Regions from separate parts of the Homo sapiens genome. Here region 2 is linked to region 1. The links are contacts of gene promoters, found by promoter capture Hi-C in blood cells and fetal thymus (Javierre and others, 2016). All regions are on one chromosome and are shown on one strand. The core of a region is centred on a gene start or on the middle of the fragment in contact, and the rest is flanking DNA. Distances in the headings are between cores, read along the strand shown.

Evidence for each region. The method cuts DNA at HindIII sites, captures the fragments that hold promoters and counts their contacts. A CHiCAGO score of 5 or more calls a contact.
Region 2: a fragment that was not itself captured here is called in contact with the fragment with the promoter of C8A in region 1 in 4 of 17 cell types (endothelial precursors, total CD4 T cells, total CD8 T cells and 1 more); the score reaches 8.3 in endothelial precursors.

What each region holds. Positions count from the first base shown.
Region 1 is chr1:56,851,137-56,856,195 of GRCh38, forward strand. It overlaps C8A (complement C8 alpha chain), which reads left to right and starts at 3,661. Exons shown (of 11, transcript NM_000562.3): 1 at 3,661-3,842. The coding sequence starts at 3,766. The HindIII fragment of the contact is 2,741 bases long and covers 1,745-4,485 here.
Region 2 is chr1:58,043,339-58,048,325 of GRCh38, forward strand. It overlaps a transcript of DAB1 not described here and the pseudogene HNRNPA1P6. Among named protein-coding and RNA genes, the nearest start is that of DAB1-AS1, 190 kb to the left of the region's middle. The HindIII fragment of the contact is 219 bases long and covers 2,300-2,518 here.

The DNA.
Region 1 (5,059 bases), core at 2,411-4,910:
AGGTCATAACTCACAGGCTGACTTAGATAGTGAAAAGTGTTTCCCTAAGACAGGCAATGTGTTTTCAAAATGAATTGCCATCTCCCTGTCTGTTCTGCGTGGTATTTTATAACTATCTATCTTTGATAACAAAATGCTACAATTAAGGTGGAATCCACATATGCAAACCTAACAATTTTTTGGCATTTCCCATTCATCTTAGAACAGTTGGGCTGAAAGCAGATAGATGCCCCTCCCCCATCCCAGTGCAGGCATGCACACATGCACACACACACTCACTCATAGAGGCACTGAACACTCACTCCACTCACTCCCATTTCTTATTAGCTTTTCTCCTTTGATTTCATCCTGTGATGATTTTGCTTTCTTTGTCCCCTAGAAATTATATTCGTTCTCTGCTAAAGCATAATAGATCATCAGACTTGGAGCTGGAAGGCCCAGGCCTTAGTCCTGATATACCACTTAGCAGTTGCACCAGACCAAAAAGATCTGAAGTTTTGCAGTTGGACGGATTATAAATCCATGACTCCAAGACTCGCCTGCTGTGTGATTGCAGGCAAATTACTTAACCACCCTGAATTTCAATATCCTTATTTTCAAAACTGCATTAGTATTACTGGCCTTCCACGGTTGCTGTGAAGATTAAGTAGACATGTAAGGTGGCAGGCACTGGGCTTGGGATTCCAAACATCTTAGTTTCATTTTCCCCCTCAATCGCTATCTGTCTGACTCTCAAGATTCTCTTCAGGATAACGATTTTTTTTTTTTTTTTTTGAGCTAGGGTCTGGCTCTGACACCCAGGCAGGAGCACAGTGGCGTGATCTTGGTTCACAAGATCTGATGATCCTCCCACCTCTGCCTCCGAGCTCAGGTGATCCTCCCACCTCAGCCTCCCAAGTATCTGGGACTACAAGTGTATGCCACCATGCTTGGCTAACTTTTGTATTTTTTGTGGAGACAGGGTTTCACCATGTTGCCCAGGATAGGATAATGATTTTTAATCTCATGAGATTATTTTGAGAATCAAATGAGAAAATATGTCTAATCATATTCTGAAATAGTAATCTATTTTTAATTGCTTATTTGCTTATTCACTCAATCAACAACAATTTCCTATTAAAGATTTTATTGTTAAGTGATATGGATGATTATAAATAAGAATCAGACACAGAACTTACACTAAAGACATGTTCATTCTCCAGTTACGCCCTGCTCCCCTAGAAGAATATGAAACAAAAATTATAAGTGCTGCTAGCACATTTATGAGGTTGAGCTTCCAAGCAGACACCTTTTAGATGGAGCCACCAGCAAAAGATCCATGATGGATCTGACATTTGAGAAGATGCTTGGCAAAAAGGGAGGAGATGACGGATGAAGATAGTTCAGATGGAAGGCCCAGTGTGAGCAAAGCCACAGCAGCAGCAAAGCATGAGGAAGGTGAAGGGAACCTAGACTATGCTGTGGGGGATCATTGCAGAGTTGTGGTTGATAAGGCTGCAAAAATGGGCTGGGACTCATTTATGGAGGAATTTGGACTTTTACTCTTAGAGATAATGGGGGAGCCACTGCAGCTTTCTGAGTAGGACAGTGATGTTGTCAGAGATTGTTTCCTTGATGATGAATCCAGCAGTGCTAGAGAGGGAGGGTTGAAGTGAGAAGTGGAGGCCCACTAGGAGTGGGTAATGAGAGTTACAGAGAGATGAGGCCCTGATATGGATCAAAGACAGTGAGGATGAAGGAGAGAAGCTTGGCAGGAAAATATTACAGAGGAATATGGTGGGGTATAAGGGACCGTGCTGGGGGTGGGGTGGGAGAGGTGATAAAGGTTAAGGAAGAGTCCTAAAGCCATTGAGGGCTTGGGTAAGGAGAAAAGACATCAGAGACATTTAGAGAAGGAGCTGCTTTAAGAAGGAAGACCCGATTGCTTTTATTTCAGGGATCAGGGGAAGGCAGACCAGTTTTTCTGTGGGGCAGTGTTTCCCAGCCTAGGTACTCTTGATATTTTGGGCCAGACAATTTTTTGTCCTGGGCACTGTAGGATGTGTGGCAGCATCCCTGGCCTTTACGCACTAGGTGCCAGTAGCACAACTCCCCAAGTTGTGATAACATAAATATCTCTGAACATTGCCAAATATCCCCTGAGGGCAAAATCACCCCCAGTGGAGGACACTGTTGTAGCGGAGGTTGTCTCCTCATGAGAAAAGCTGTGGGAGGAGTGGGGGAACTTGAGCTACACTTCCCAGGGGGCTCTGTGGATCTGTTTCAGGAACTTTGACTACGGATGAGAAAGGATGGAAGTTGGTAGAAAGAGGTGGCCTCCAGATGTGCCATCCTGAACTGGCCCCAGGGTGTCCAGATAGAATACCCTCCATTGTCCTCCATATCTTCAGTGAAAGCAAAATGAAATGCTAGTCACGCTGGAATATTGTGGAGCAAACAGAAAGTGTGGTTTTCAAAGTAGGGTAGAACTGAGGCCAAGAGGACCAAGGAGTCAAAATGAAAAGAGGTAGGAGAAAGAGAGACACAGAAATCACAGGCTCCGGGGACTTCCCAGGACCCAGAATCCACATTTACTTCTGTCAAGTTTACCAAAATCTCTGAGAAAAGGGAGATGATAACAATTTGGTGCCTTTAAAAAAATCTCCGCATTTAAATCAGAAACACATTTTCTTAAGCATACAAGTCATTCATTAAAATTTCTCCTAACTTTGAGATCAGTAATGATACTACTGGACAGTCCTGCTAATGAGAGAATCTAAATATTCCCAAGGATATTGAGACAGCTATACAACCTTGGGCAAGTTAGTTACTTTCTCTGGGCCTCCATTTCTTCATCTTCATTAATTCCATCTAAATGGAATTAATAATTTCCATCTCATATCCCTGCTATGAAAATTAAATAAGACATATGAAATGCCTGCCACATAGTAGCCATTAAATTATTGTCTGTGTATCTATCCATCATCTATGTATTTACCTACCTATCTATCCATCCATCTCAATTTAATTTAATTTATGTCTTGAAGAGTAAGAGATTTTAGGCAGGTATGGCACCATTAGTCCTGATGTGTGGTTTTATTGACATTATAATTCTAGAGAGTGCTTCTGGAGATGTCTATTTAAGACATTTGGCCCCCTCAATAAACAGATACCCTGGATCTCAATGATGCCCAATGTCTGTATGAAAAGTGGAAAGTCCATTGAATTACACATATATTTCAGGATTTAGATGTTTGGCAACGTACAGTAGAACCTTCATGTAATGGTTAGCATTTCCTACATTTTTCTGAGTGCTTTATGTCTGAGTTGATATACCAATATTAGCCTTGTTTCAGTCTTGCAAAATAGATTGATCTGACCTCAGAAGTTCCAAGAGACACTGAAAAAGACCAGGAATTCTAGAACTGCATCTTGGTTTGGTTTTTGCCTCCTTTTGAAAATAAGACCTCTTTGCTAAGCTGGTATTAGTTAAATATCTTCCTTTCCTTAACCACACGGATATTGTTTTTCAAAAGGTCTAAAGGGCAGTGGCCTTTGGTGCCTGGAACACTTTTAGAGTATTTAGGTAATCAATACCCTGGTTACTATTTAACCATATTTGAAAGAGAATCAAGTGAGTTCTGTGCAAATCAATGTGTATCTGGGTGAGTTTCCAACATCAGATAGATCTTACAGGTCCCAGCCTGTAGACATCTTTTACTCCAATTTCCTGAATAGATAGCTTTATTCCTTCAAGGTAATATAGTGCGGTGGCTTCTGGCTGAGATGTTTGCTGTTGTTTTCTTCATCTTGTCTTTGATGACTTGTCAGCCTGGGGTAACTGCACAGGAGAAGGTGAACCAGTAAGTGGGCCATATGTCTCTGCAAAACTTGCACGTAGGAATCACCTGCTGGGGAACTAAGACACTTTTATGTTTGCAGCAGAGGCTGTGTTAGAATGGAAAATAACCTCTTTTCATGTTATTACTACTCCTGTGGAGGAGGATGGGACAGTGAAAAGACCGTGCACTTGGAGTCAAATTGGTCTATGTGTAAATCACAGCTCTAATGCTTAGAAGCTGAATAATTCAGGGTAAATCATCTCATCGGTTTGATCCTTAGTTTCCCTAGCTGTAAAATGAGAATAATAATACCTCTTCTATAAGAGTTAATGTAGATAAAATAAGATCCTGAATATAAAATGTACTCAGCTTATAGTAGACACTTAATAAATGACAGTTCTCCTGAGTGGTGCTGAACAGTTAACTTAACCCCTACTTTCTTATCTGTAAAAGAGCATCATAAGAGTGCTGTCTCATAGTTTTGGGGGAGGATAAAATTAGATAATGTGTTCAAAATCACTGTGGGGAAGGCAAAGGACTATAGAGATGCTGGGTCATTTGATTCTAAAAATGACTTTATCTTTTGCTATGGGATAATAGAGGGAGGTGATGTAGTTTCATATGTACATTGTGTTTTACCCATTCTATTTTCTTGAGATTTCCAAGCTTGCTTCATGGGTTTTTTTTTTTTGGTATCTTAATATTAAGTATTTTGTGGAGCCTAAGCAGTCCTTTATTTCACCTTCGGGATAGCTTTAAAGCAATCCCTGTCTCCCAAACATTAAAGATTTTAAATAGAATTATTTAATTCTAATTCTTGATAGATGATGCAATTTTGAATCATTAGTGCTTTTAAATGCTAGAGCAAGTGAGAATTCCTTTAAGTAACAGTTCAGAAGGGAGGAAAGCATTTTTAAAAGCAGTTAATTTGTAACTTGTATTTAAAGGAAATACAATTTTGAAATCAGAAAATTCATCTGTAATAATTAGAAGATAAAGGCAAGAGAACTGTGTAAAGGAAATCTCCGCCGAGATATTCTTAATTATAAAAGCTTATCATTGTAATCCTTTTTGAAAATGAACAAAGAGTCTTGATGTTTGATGAACTTATCAAACAAGACAGACCAGTGAAGGGGCAAATTTCAAGTCAAGGCAAAATGGAACCAATTAAATACTTTACAAAGTGCTGAAGGAGGAAATCATGAGGTCTTTGTATCTAATGCCAGTGTGTCTGACAC
Region 2 (4,987 bases), core at 1,159-3,658, 1.2 Mb after region 1:
ATAAAAAACAATTTGGATAATATATTTCTTTCACTTCTAGTAGAATTTCAAGTTTAAAAAAAAGAGTTGGCAGAAACTTCAGAGACAGTCTAGCCCAAACCCTTCAATACATGGATCGATACCTTTACCTCTTCTATTTCCACTGCTTGTAGTGCTTTTTCAATCTGATCCATCTGACAAAACTCTCTTCACCCATGACCCATGATGTCCTCACAGTCACTCCTACTCTAAAGCCTTCCGTGAATCTCACAAAATTAATACTCACTTCCTCTTTGGAGCTCTGGGAGTAGTAGTTAATGTCTGGATTTTCTTTTCTCATCTATAAAATGAGATCACTATTGTGCCATGAAATGAATACTTGACAGAGTCAAACAGAGAGGATAATCACAACCCACATTTTTTTTTTTAAGACGGAGTCTTGCTCTGTCACCCAGGCTCAAGTGCAGTGGCACGATCTCGGCTTACTGCAACCTCCACCTCCCAGGTTCAAGCGATTCTTCTGCCTCAGCCTCCCGAGTAGCTGGGATTATAGGCACACACCACTACGTTTGGCCAATTTTTGTATTCTTAGTAGAGATGGGGTTTCACCATGTTGGCCAGGCTGGTCTTGAACTCTTGACCTCGTGATCCGCCTGCCTTGGCCTCTCAAAGTGCTGGGATTACAGATGTGAGCCACTGTGCTCACCACAACTTAACTACTTTATAGCATTGTAGATGTGTCAATTACCTGTATATTTAATCTCAGCTCCCTCTGTCCTTCTTTGAAAAATTTTCAGGAAACAACATTTCCTTAGCTTCCTTCTTTTTGAGTTTCTGATTATGTATTACTAATTTGAGGCTGTGGTAAGTTGGAGACCAGAAGGAGGGAAGAGGGACAGGGCATTTTTACCCTTGGCTTTCCTGGTTTGGGATTGCATCTCCAGAAATGGTAGCATTTCCTCCAGGGCTTCTCTGTGCTTCTAGCTTCTGAAGGTGACCCTGGTCTCTGGGATTTGGTGGTACCACCTTTTTTCCCTATTCCTCTAGCCTAGGGGTTACAGTGGCTTCCTCCTACTGCTGCTCTTTGACTTGTCTGAATATCATTTTTTCGCTTCTTAGCTCTTCCATCTTGTATGCGACCAACTCCTTTATTGAATCTTTCCTGTTTGAAATACCTAGACAGATTTATGTTTTCTGAGTGTCTCTTGTTATATTAGACAAAGAGAAAAGGAGAGGAGAAAGAACTAATATAATTATTGACAATGTACTGCATATCAGGCTTTTACTCTGGGTGTTGAATTCATAATTTCACTATAGCATAGTGGTTAAGGTTACAAAGGTTGTCAGAGAGACCAGACTTCAGATCCCAGTTCTGACACGTACTAACTCAGTCTTACCCTGTTTCAATATCTGTCGATTAGGGATAAGAGTAATATTTACATGCAGAGTTCAGAGGATTCAGAATCATATGTATAAAAGCACTTATCACAGAACCCAATACATAGGACTCAATGTTAGTTATTAATAACAAATATATAATAATAATCTGAACAAACCTATAAGGCTGGTATTATTAATATTCCTCATGACATGTGAGAAAACCACGATTCATAGAAATGAAGTAGTATGCCCAAGGTCACATAGCTAATAGAGGGATGCTAGGCTTAGAACTCTGACTAGAAAATCTGTTTTTTTCTACTATACAGAATGGGCTTACAGATGAAAACATACAATTGGAATCTATATAAATATTATAGTTTATGAATATAAAGCTTAAATTATCTGGCTCCCTAATTAATTGCATTGTTGTTAGGAGCAGAATTTGAGAGGATCCTGAATCCTGACAAACCCTATCCTGCAGGCCGGCCGACAGCACTGCAAGGACAGCAGGTTGGTCAGGGCTGGCAGCGGGAAGCACTTGCCACTGGGAGGCCACAACCCCACTCCGACGGGTCTGCTGGCAGGGGCTGTGGAGTGGGCCTCACCTACTCATTACTGCCATACCGAGGGGGTAAGGGCTAATGGACTGCTGGTCCAGGGGGACGGTCTGCAGCTTCACGCAGCTCTCTCCACAGCATCCAGGCCTGAACCTGTGACCCCAACTCCGCGAGCGGGGCTGTTACCCACTCTTGAGACTGCCGGCATTAAGATCCTCTCATTACTGGCCATGCAGATTGTTCCCGGCGATAATGAGGTGGCAAGAGAAGAAACCATCCTGGGGGAACTTCTGAGAGCCAAGCCTTCGACAGTAGATGAATTCCTAACCTGCCATTTTAAAAACTGTCTCTCCAAATTGCTAGGAATATTTTTTTTCCAGGGAAGCTTTGACCCTTCTCTTTATCTTTCTTTTTAGACTATGTGCTGAAAGAGGTAGAAATCCATACTCACTCACCCCTTTCTTCCCTTGCATCTTTGTTTTCATCTCCATCCTTCTCTTGCCTCCTTTCTCTCCCTTTTTGCCTCTTTTCCCTTTTTCCCCTTTGTTCCTTCTCTTTTTTTCCATTTATTCTCCTATCCTTTCACACAGCATAGAGATGCAAGCTTTGGAACAAAATACATTATGGGTCCAAATTGCAGCTCTGCTCCCTGGTAATTAGGGATTTGGGCAAGATTATCAATTTTTTTTTTTTTTTTTTGGAGCCTCTGTTATTTATCTGAAAATGGAGACTAAAATTTTCAGGGTTTTAAGGTTATTAAATGACCTTATTTATAGAAAGAGGCCTGTTAAGGTATATGGGCACATAACTGGCATAGAATAAATGCAGGTACCTTCCTGTATTCAGCAAGGCTTTATTGAGTTAAGTCCATGATATATGTAAAGTCCTGTGGTAGATACCAGAGACAGAATAAGTTTTGGTTTCTTCTGTTAAGTAAGTTTTCCATTTTGATACTGAAGAAAAGCCTGGGAATTCTGGATTTTCTTAAACTAAATAAAGATAAATATTTTTCCTAGTGTATATCAAATATCCAATTGGCTATAACTAACTTCTTTTCTCAAAGCTAAGCAAACTGAGGCAAAGGACATCACGGCAATTGAAATGTTTATATCGTCCAAATCATTTACTTGGGTGACATCTTGTCCCTCCCATAGAACACATTTACATAAAGAAGAACTTCTTTTTTTGTTGTTGATTTTATTTTCTGTTGATTTTTTTTTCGAAGGTAGGATTATGAACTACTTTAAGGCCCTCTGAAACTAGGAAGGATGTGAGTAAAGTACAATGTCATATCATTATTTTTATTTGCATTTTTTAAATTACTAATGAGGTTGAACACATTTCCACATTAGTTTCAAGGTACTTAGCTAGAACTTGTTTTACAATTTTAATTGGTTACTGTCCATCTGGTATCTTCTCTACTATGCCATGAGCTTCCAGAGAACAGAGCCTGAGCAGCACTTGTCTTGGTATCCTTTGTGTGGTGCAGTAAACAAAGCATCTCACACAGACTGGATGCTGTAGAACAGAGCTCCTGCCATGTGCCAGCCACTGGTGCTGGGGATAGAGGGATGGGAGCTCTCAGAGGTACACTCTTTAAGTCCAGGGATACCTACAATTTCTGGGCCACTCACTGAGTGGAGAAGAACTGATTTTGTTTGAAACTGAAGTTCAAAGCCCAGCCGTGCCACTTACTGGTTGTGTGACCTTGGGCAAAGTTGCTTCATCTCTTTGAGCCTCAGTTTCTTTAGCTGTAAAATAAGGACAAGCTCCAAGATCCCTCCAAATTCTTACCATGACATGATATTTGTATAATATATACATAGCCTGAAAATGAGATTCAAACTTTAGTTATTTTGGAAATTCTGTTTTATTATGCCATGGATTGTGTCAAGCAGTTTCACCCAAAAGAAATATAGCATGGGCTATGAATGCAAGCCACATATGTCACCTTAAATTTGCCACTTAGCCACATTTAAGTAAAATAAAAAAACAGGTGAAATGAATTTTAATAATATATTTTCTTTAATCCAATATATCTAAACTGTTATCTTTCAACATATCCAAACTGTTATCATTTCAACAAGTGGCACTAGCCACATTTCAGGTGCCCAATAGCCACGTGTGGTTGGACAGTGTGGTGTGAAGTGTGGCACCAGGGAGGTGGGCCTTCGCTGCTGCTGCTGCCCTCTGGTGGATGTACAGGTGAGTGGCATCTCACAAATGAGGGGTGTGGGTGCAATGAAGCCACCAGCCCCTGTGTCCTACTAATCTTTATCATAGCCCCTTCACTCCTCTCATTGAAAGCATAGATACTAATTTTGATTTTTTTTAACCCATTCGCTTGTTTATGGTTAAAGAGCCACCTCTCATTCACTAGTCAAAGTAATCACATTGAATTACAGCAGAGTAGAATAAATGAAAGATCTTCACGCAATTCCATACATGTGAGAAATATGGGCTCTTCTATTGACACTCTCTCAGGCCAGGAACTTAACTAGATCATCTCTCTGCCTGAGTTGAAAGTCCAGTCAACAACTGTTTATCCGGCATCCAAGAAAAAGGAAACATAAATAACCTGAACTACTTTTTTTAAGGCATTTATTCAGCATCACGATCAGACTATTACATTTAGCAATCAACAGCATGGGTGCAAAAAAAAATCTACATTAAAACCCTTTGTTGGAATGCTTTACACTTTCCACAGAACAGCAACTAAAATAACCTGTTATACAATTAGTCACAAATATAGTCCTCAAGTTTTTTGCCCATATACATGAGTATTTGTCTAAAACATGTCTTCTTTGCAGCAGCTAGGCCCTGCCACCACTGTGTTTGGCTGAGTTCACAAATCTGTTGTAACCTATAGCTTCCCTGTCACTTCTCTGGCTCTTCTCTCCTGCTAAGCTTTGTTTCCTAATTAAAATCTTCTGCCACTGCCACAGCTACTGCTGCTACTGGAACCGCCATAGCCACCTTGGTTTCACAGTTTGGCAAAGTATTGGCCTCCACCGCCATAGGGGCCAGAGCTTCTGCCTCCAAAATCTCCCCCCTTCATGGGTCCAAAATTT